Linked DNA regions of Homo sapiens: region 2 is linked to region 1. Evidence: promoter capture Hi-C in 16 types of primary human blood cells and fetal thymus (Javierre and others, 2016). All regions are on one chromosome and are shown on one strand. The core of a region is centred on a gene start or on the middle of the fragment in contact, and the rest is flanking DNA. Distances in the headings are between cores, read along the strand shown. Region 1 holds the start of TSPEAR-AS2 (TSPEAR antisense RNA 2). Region 2 holds the start of KRTAP10-9 (keratin associated protein 10-9).

What was found. The method cuts DNA at HindIII sites, captures the fragments that hold promoters and counts their contacts. A CHiCAGO score of 5 or more calls a contact.
Region 2: the fragment with the promoter of KRTAP10-9 here is called in contact with the fragment with the promoter of TSPEAR-AS2 in region 1 in 6 of 17 cell types (naive CD8 T cells, naive CD4 T cells, total CD8 T cells and 3 more); the score reaches 7.8 in naive CD8 T cells.

What each region holds. Positions count from the first base shown.
Region 1 is chr21:44,515,134-44,519,417 of GRCh38, reverse strand. TSPEAR-AS2 (TSPEAR antisense RNA 2) reads right to left here and starts at 2,203. Exons shown (of 2, transcript NR_026548.1): 1 at 1,583-2,203; 2 at 441-790. The region is part of intron 9 of TSPEAR (thrombospondin type laminin G domain and EAR repeats); the gene reads left to right. TSPEAR-AS1 (TSPEAR antisense RNA 1) reads right to left here. Exons shown (of 7, transcript NR_103707.1): 7 at 2,843-3,921. The HindIII fragment of the contact is 11,587 bases long and covers 1-4,284 here.
Region 2 is chr21:44,624,622-44,628,905 of GRCh38, reverse strand. It overlaps KRTAP10-9 (keratin associated protein 10-9), which reads right to left and starts at 1,813. Exons shown (of 1, transcript NM_198690.3): 1 at 528-1,813. The coding sequence starts at 1,734. The coding sequence ends at 856. All of the region lies in intron 1 of TSPEAR (thrombospondin type laminin G domain and EAR repeats), which reads left to right. RefSeq lists an enhancer at 2,193-2,888. The HindIII fragment of the contact is 20,057 bases long and covers 1-3,682 here.

The DNA of each region.
Region 1 (4,284 bases), core at 954-3,453:
GGGGCCAAGAGCGTGATATGGGCTGGAAATTGGGACTCCCAAGGAGGGCTCGATACGCGGGGACAGTGGCTCAAAAGGCAAATGGTGGGCTGGGCGCAGTGGCTCAAGCCTGTAATCCCAACCCTTTGGGAAGCCAAGGCAGGCGGATCACAAGGTCAGGAGATCAAGACCATCCTGGTGAACACGGTGAAACCCTGTCTCTACTAAAAATACAAAAAAAAATTAGCCTGGCATGGTGGCGGGTACCTGTAATCCCAGCTACTCGGGAGGCTGAGGCAGGAGAATGGCGTGAACCCGGGAGGCGGAGCTTGCAGTGAGCCGAGATCACGCCACTGCACTCCAGCCTGGGCGACAGAGTGAGACTCCATCTCAAAAACAAAAAAAAAACAACAAAAGCAAATGGTGACATCGAGCAGCAACGAAAGGGTGGCTTGGGGACTTGGGCACAGCTGCAGAGCACAGCAATCCGGCCGACAGCAGTTCCCGTGGAAACACCCGGGGCTCCACACCAGTCATGTGTCATCAGGATCATACTGGTGCCCTGACATGAACGTGCGCCCTGCTGGCCCCAGGCTCACACATGCAGAGCCCCAGCACACTGGAGCATGTTTGAGGAGCTTTGCCAGAACCAGGAAGGGATTTGAAACGTTATCACACAAGGAATAGTTGCAGGACTTGAGGCTTTATCCTGAAAGAAGACGTAGGCAGTCACTTCCAATCATCTAACGAATGAGCTGGTGGGGGGCAGGGGGCGGGCCTCCAGGGGGTCTTGAGAGCAGAGTCGCGCACCCTGGATGGAAAGGCACCACAAGTGACTTTCTCGTCAACTAGGCAAGGTCTCCTAACAGCTGTTGTGCCACGGAGAGGCTGCTGTCCTGGAGGTCCTGCATTCTAAATCACAAAGTGAGGTGACAAGAGAAAGGATCCCTGCAGTGGGTTGGGGAGTGCGTTTTGGAGATTATCATCCTAGATCTACCAACACCGTGATCCTAAAGCCCCTGTGATAACACCAAGTCCAATTTACAGTGTCTTCTTCACGACACTGCACCAAGGTGCTCAAGATGCCCCAGTGCCCCAGAGCGTACCTGGCCAGCTGCGTGTCACCCATGCCATCCTCTCCAGCTAAGGGTCCCCGGATGTTTGACAAAAATCCTGAAAACTGCAGGAGTCAGGCTAAAGAAAAAGGCTGAAAGAAACTGAGCTAGCTCTAGAAACAGAAAGGAATTTTTTTAAGTTATACTTGTCTTCAGAAGTATTCAAGATGATACTGCACTTACGAAATAAAAAATGCTACTAATGAGACAGAGAGCTTGGACATTAAAAATGCAATTGCTGGCATTAAAAGAAGACATTCATTAACATGACTGAAATATAAAGTTAAGAGTATCTTCTAGAATGTAGAATGAAAAGAGACAGAATCAAACCAGGAGAGTCTGTATCTGGCTAACCAAAGTTCTAGAAAAAAAAGAAGAGGGTGAGGACAGTGATGGAATTGTCAGAGAAGGCTTGAAGAAAACCGCCCAGATCTCATCAGACTGAAAGGGCGCTGAGCCCAAGGAGCGCGAGAGCAAAGGAAAGTTACCTTCAAAGCACACAGGAGCCGCGGCAGCCTGGGATTTCCCATCGGCAGCCCTGGATATCAGGAGGTAGGAGGGCTCAGTGTTCTGAAGGCGAGTGATGTCCACAGAGCCCCCGCAGGACAAGGACGCTGGCCACTGCCATGCACGGCTCCCACATGTCAGTGGCTTCCTGCCATATTGGGTTAGTTCTCATATCAAGTCAGACAAGGAGCACACACGGTGGGAAGCAGCAGGAAGGGGCTGACCTGACCTGTGCTCACAGCCCATGGGCCAGTGCCAGTCACATGTCCCAGCCTAGCTGGACCTGTACTCACGTGTCCTCACAGCTCATTGGCTAATGCTTGTCATATGACCCAGCCTAGCTGGACCTGTGCTCACGTCCTCACAGCTCATTGGCTAGTGCCAGTCACATGACCCAGCTTGTCCCTGTGTCACGTGTACTCACAGCTCATTGGCTAGTGCTGGTCATATGACCCAGTCTCCTGTCAGTCTGAGACCTGTGGGAGCCCTGGACTAGGCGGTGTTCCTGGGGGGTGCACTGGCAAGCCCAGGTACTCAACCAGAATGAGAAGATCAGAACTGGAAGTGGTGGCTCCACCCAAAGATGACCATAAGGAAAGTTCTGGAATGAGAACTGGTATGTGTCCTAGAGAGAAGCCAGCCCAGATGGTCTGGGGTCAGGGAGGGCATAAGAGGGGGTTTGGGGGCTGTGGAGTCCACGGAGCACAAAGTGTGTCCAGGGATGGCGTGCTGAAGGAGTGACAGAAGCACAGACTGCAGGAGTCGAGGAAGGCAGAGACACAGGGGCCAGGCCAGGACGGCCTTCCTGTGCAGCAGCCGCTGAGGTGGGACAGGACCGAAAGCCCCAGGGTGCAGGAGCGAGGGGCTCCTGCGATGGGAAGATGGGAGAGCTGGGAGCGTTCTCGCATGCAGAGCTGGTGTGTTTTCTTCCTCTGGGAAGGAAGGAGGGGAGGGCCATACCCAGGAGGGGACAACTAGAAACTTGTTGAAAAGCAGCGTACATAGATCACAGGTCCAAGGACGAAGCAGGTGAACCCGTCCTGTGATTTTAAGCATGAAAGGAGAATGTTTGCCTGGCATGGGGGACTGCCCCAGGGATGGCACAGTTGGTCATCCCGACATAGAAATCGCCTGGGTGGGTGGTGCCATAGCCCGGCCCCTGGCTCTGGGGGCTGACATTACCGTAAGGTCAGGACCACACGAAGCTGATCCTGATGTGTCACTCAGAGAATCGCCCCGTGGCCGAACCCACCCTGGGCGCGGGTGTTGGTGTTTATTAGTGGAGGTACAACCCAGGCTGCTTGGGGGAGGGGAGAAGGAGAGCAGAGGCCCTGCATCTCCATCCCACACCCTACACCGTGGGTGAAGAGGCGAGGCCAGAAGCCGCCCACCAGGAATCAGAGGAGCTCCCAGCAGCACCCACTGAGGAGGACAGTTGCCACAGACCCTAAGCAGGAGCAGCTCTGCCTTCAGGTGCCCAGACCAGGTGCAGGCAGGCAGCCTGGCGCTCCCAGATAAACAAGGCCTGGCAGCCCTGGCCACTGCCCTGCATGTGGAGCACAGCTCCCTTCACTCCTGACAGCCTCATTCTGAAAGCCCTGGAATTCCTGCTGATGGCAGCCTTCCTTGTTTTCCTGTTTTGGAAAGCCTTTTGGAGATTTCTGGAAGGTGGTCTGTGGCTGCGCATCCTCAGCTGGTTGGCGATTCCACCTCAGACCCATCTCACAGGTGTGGAAACTGAGGCTCAGGAGCAGGGACCTGGCCACAAACACACGGCGGTAAGCGGCCGAGCCAGGGCGTCCACAGGTGTCCCTGTGTCCACATGAATCGCCTCCTCTGTGCCTGCCCCATGGGGATGGAGCCTGCAGCCTGGTTTGGGCCGTGACGGGAGTGCCTGGGACGCCTCACACCATGGTGGGGTCTCAGCCCTTCACTCATGGGGCCCATCCCTTTGATGGACTACCTGCTCTTCATGAAATGACGTCGGGACTGGATTCTGAGCTTCGTTGATCTTTGTGTGTTCTGGAAGGCAGTCGGGAGGTGTTCGTGGAACGTGGTTACCGAAAAACACGGGGCTTCTGTCACGGGTGATGTGGTGGAGGTGGCAGCCCAGCCCAGAAGGCGGCCACTCTACATTTTCAGGCCGCGTGTGAAGGCCAGCTTTGATCTACACCAAGGACTGGAGCAGTGGTCCTGGAGATGCACGGGCATCCTCAGAAGGGGGCCAGCAGCAAAGGGGCAGAAATGGAACCACCGGAACCAAGGGGAGGGTCTGGGCTAGCGACCCATGGCGAAGTCCCAAGGGGTGGGTGACATCCGCCTGAAAGAAACATCAGAGAAGAGCAGGGGCTAGAGCAGGACCACAGCAGACAGAAGGAAGCACGGCTGCAGCTCCCAAAGCAGAACCAGAACTCCGGGAACGGGGACCTGGCTGCTGGGGGCGCCATCATGGCCCAGGCCCTGAAGGTGCCTTAGGAGGGCCCTGGGAAGGCGCTGGGACCACGCACACATGGACGGGCTTCCTCTCCACCTGGCCTGAGCCTCATCTTTCAAAACTCAGTAATTCCTCAAAACTCACAAAGCCCACTTTCATGTTTTGCCAACATTTCTCACATTGTGTTGAAATCCTTTTAGGTCCTAGAGATGTCTTAATTTGTTTACTGTTTGGTTTGAGTTTTGCAAT
Region 2 (4,284 bases), core at 564-3,063, 110 kb before region 1:
GTGTCTGTTCTCTGCTCTGCATCCCAGCGGCAAGCCCAGGGCTGGAGCAGGGGCCATCCCTGAGCGTCTGTGAGTGTCCACAGGAGGCCAGGATGGCCAAGCTCTCTCCGAGTGGAACTCCTGAGTGCTGGGACAGCTGGAGCCCAAGTCTCCACACCCACCCCCCACCGCCCGTCTCCCACCTCCCAGCACAGCTGGGGCCTGCCACCCCCCGGGACAGCCCCAACCCTTGCCATGGGAAGGAGCTGCTTCTACCCACAGTGAGTGGGGCATTAGCCTGAGTCACGTGGTGTCTGTGGGACTCAGCCAGTGAACAAGGCTTTTGGGCCCCACAGGACCTGGGAGGGGAGCCGGACAGCAGAACGTGCCACGAGGTGGACAGGAGCTTCCAGGTGTCACACAAGAGCCCCCCGAGGCCCCCCAGCTGGGGAAGTAAAGAGATCCACGGGGCCCAGCCCCCCAGAGCCAGGCCAGGCCCCACTCTGCCCCCTCCCGCCCTGGGTGCGGAGAGTCAGCACGGAGTCAGCTGGGGCCGCAGACGCTTTATTGGTGCTCAGGGGCAGAGGGTGACGCTGCTGGGGGTGAGACCCGGGTCAGGAGGGCCCGTCCCCAACCAGCGACCAGCGGAGGGTTGTGGTCTGCAGCCAGGAAGCACCGTGAGGAGAAGCCAGGGCTCGCCTGCCCGGGGGGGAGGTCAGGGAGGAGCCAGTGAGCATCTGAGACCCCGGGGCTGGGCGGCTGTGGCTGGGGCTGCTCCTTCTGTGTTGAGCTGTGCTGAGGCTGGGTGGGCTGGGAGGTCCAAGGACTGGCAGGGAGGTGGGGCCTGAGCCCGGCTGGCCCTGGGGGACATGACCGTCAGCAGCTGGACTTCTGGCCTGAGGAGAAGCTGTAGCAGGCCGGGCGGGAGCACACAGGGCGGCAGAGAAGGGACACACAGGAGGCCTGGCGGCAATAGCTGGGCTGGCGGGAGGAGGTGGGGGCACAGCAGGAGGAGACGGGCACGCAGCAGGCGGGCCTGCACACAGGGCGGCAGAGGAGGGACACAGAGGAGGAGGGTCTGCAGCAGGAGGTGGTGCAGCAAGCCGGCTGGCAGCCAGACTGCTGGCAGCACAAAGAGGAAGCCCCAGAGCAGACAGGCACACAGCAGATGGGTTTGCAGCAGACAGGCTTACAGCAGACAGGCACACAGTAGGACTGCTGGCAGGGGGAGGAAGTGCAGCAAGCTGGCTGGCAGCTAGACTGTTGGCAGCATGAATAGGAATCCTCAGAGCAGGTGGGCGCACAGCACACAGGTTTGCAGCAGACGGGCACACAGCAGGCCGGCTGGCAGGAGGAAGAGGCACAGCAAGCTGGCTGGTAGCTAGACTGTTGGCAGCACGAAGAAGCCCCACAGCAGACGGGCACGCAGCACACAGGCTTGCAGCAGACGGGCACGCAGCAGGCCTGCTGGCAGGGGGAGGAGGTGCAGTAAGCCGGCTGGCAGCTAGACTGCTGGCAGCACGAGGGCGTGCAGGAGCTGGTGCAGCCTGATTGGCAGGGGCTGGGCTCACAGGTCACCTGGCAGCAGGGGCTGGATACACGGCTCACTGGGGTGCAGACCAGGGTCAGGCAGGGGGCCGGGGCGCAGCAGCTGGTGGCGCAGCAGGGGGGCTCACAGCAGCTCTCTGGGCAGTCGTCCACCTGCCAGGAGTCGGAGTAAGCGCTGGAGCGGATGGACATGGTGGACGCGGCCATGCTGGGGTGGGGAGGAGGTGAGCTGGGGGAGGTGTAAGTGAGTGTGTGAGTGTGTCAGTGAGTGAGTTTGTGAGTGTGTGAGGTTCTTGGGGCTCTCAGGCTTTTATACCCCTCCTGGCCTTGTTGTTCCAGGGCCCACAGCTTCCCCTTCCTTGTTGCTGAGAGGCGGCGTCTGCCATGATTAGGGATGTTTGTTTGCTGGTGACATTGCCCAGCTCACAAATCTCCTGTCACACCTGGGCTATAGTCTGTTGCATGTGGAACCTCAGGGGCAGGAGTTGGGGTGGGCCTGATCCCAGCTGGGTTCTGGAGGCAAGGACGGCTGTGGGCGTCTGGTGGGTGGGATGTGGGTGGGATGTGCCTGGGGCCATCTTTGGTTGCTGGGGCATCGTCCAGCCACTGGCCCCAGCAGCCTCAGGACACGGGCTTCCTCTGCAGGAAGCCGGCCCTTAGGAATTATTTCCTGTGGTGCAAACTCCTCCTCTAGTATGGTCCTTCCCCTGCTGTAGGACACAGGACTCGCCAATTTCTAATCCCCATGGCCTCTGTGCCTCCTGCCCTCTGTTCATTGCCCACCCTGTCCTTTGCTTGGGAGGCAGCAGGACTCTGTTCCAGGGCAGGGATCGTGGGCTCAGCCCACTCCTTGCTGAGGCACAATGGCAGCATCGTGGGCTGTGGTTTCGGGTTCTGAACCCGTGAAGTAGCTGTGCTAGGCAGCAGGCAGCCGCCAGCCCTCGCCACTGCTGGAGCCATCTCCTCCGTGTGCCCTGCACTGCAAGCATCTTTTTCTCACCAGCCCTGCCCACAGGCCCCATCACACACCCCCAGGTCAGCCACAGGCAACTCTCACGGCTGCATGATCTTTGATGATGAATTGTTATCACCACAGGGCATGATGAAGTCCCGAGCTTCTTGCCTTATAAAATGGCCCTGATCACTTTCCAGGAACATTGCTACCCAGCAGCTAATTATAATATTGATTGTGATTTCACATTTTTATTTAAAAATTCAAGTACACATACGCATATTTCATTATAAAGTAAGACGTATTACACGATGTTGAGTAGAACGTCTTTGTTGCTGTGAATCTGGCAAAGCTGGAAACGGCCTCTCATTCTAAAAATAATGCTAACATTCTGGGTCAGACCTGTCCCCACAGGGTTTCTAAAATAAGACAGAAGTTGACCAGCTATGGCCAGCTGCCACACCCCACCAGTGCTGCCCAGGTTGTAAGAAGGAGGCTGTGGAGGCAGGGGTGGCCCTTCAGTCTTACGCAAAGTGTGGTGTCCCAGGGAGAGAGTCCTCCAGCTACTGTCCCTGGGGGTGTCTCTAAAGTGGGTCCTCACTGAAGAGGCAGAAGCAGCTGGTAGAAGCACAGGATCACTGGAGCAGCCGGAGAGAAGGTGCAGCAGTGGCCAGTGAGCCCCACAGTGGTGGCCCTGCACATTCCTTCCCCCGTCCCCATCACTGAAGAAATTAGAGCCCAAAACAGGGAGAAGGGGAGCAAGGAAAGAGAGGCCATGCCGCTCCCCGCGGCCTTCCCCGAGGTCCACTCAGACTTGCATGTGGGAACGCTGGGGATAGGACTGGGTTTCAGACAGGATAGAAAAGTTTTGAACTGGTCCATTTTGGGCTATGGATTTGGTTCTGCTCTTTCAGGCCATAGCTTTATGATACGCTTCAATCATAGATAATTCAAGTCCCATTATCAATATTTCTTTTTGTAAAAAAAAATTTTTTTTGTAGAGACCAGAGTCTTGCTATGTTGCCCAGCTGGTCTTGAACTCCTGGGCTCAAGTGATCCTCCTGCCTTGGCCTCCCAAATTGCTGGGACTACAGGCGTAAGCCACCGTGCGTGGCCCATCATCAGTATTTCTGTGCCAAGTCTCCTAACTTTTCATGCTCATTTTCTTTGCTGTGCTCAGCTCCCATTCTTCAAAGGTAAGCTTCATGTGGGCAGGAAGTGTGGTTGTCTTGTTCACCACTCAGTCTCTGAGGGCCTAAAATAATGCCTGGAATAGGGAAGATCCTTCATAAAAATGGGCTGAAATAATAAATGTTTTTGGAGAAATTATCGAAGAGTAATTTTGACCTCTGAAAACGATTCCATTATGCTACCTTTTTCTTATGCTGTATAAAACTCTCTGTCAAGTTCTGCTTTTGTGTGTGGGGAATTGGCTGACATCAGACTGGCCATCTAGCTGAGAAAAGTTAGGAAACCTGGTTTAACAAACAAAATCTCTATTTGAGGGCACCAGGAGTCACCAAGACAGCTGAGACTTGAGTGAGTGAATCCCTATTAGAGGGAAAGTGCACAGAAGTGAGTCTAATATTTCTTCTGGATTTTCTTATTGAGGCATTTACTGATTCACAGACTACAGCCATGAGGCTGAGGCTGAGCACAGCTTTTAGTAGTCTCATACAATTGGAAGACAAAAACATAGAGTTCAGGACCTGACAAGGAGGAGGGATTCTGGTAAAACAACAACAACAACAGACTGTCAGTTGGAAACAGTGAATATAAGTGAAGGATTACGCCCTAGGATGAAG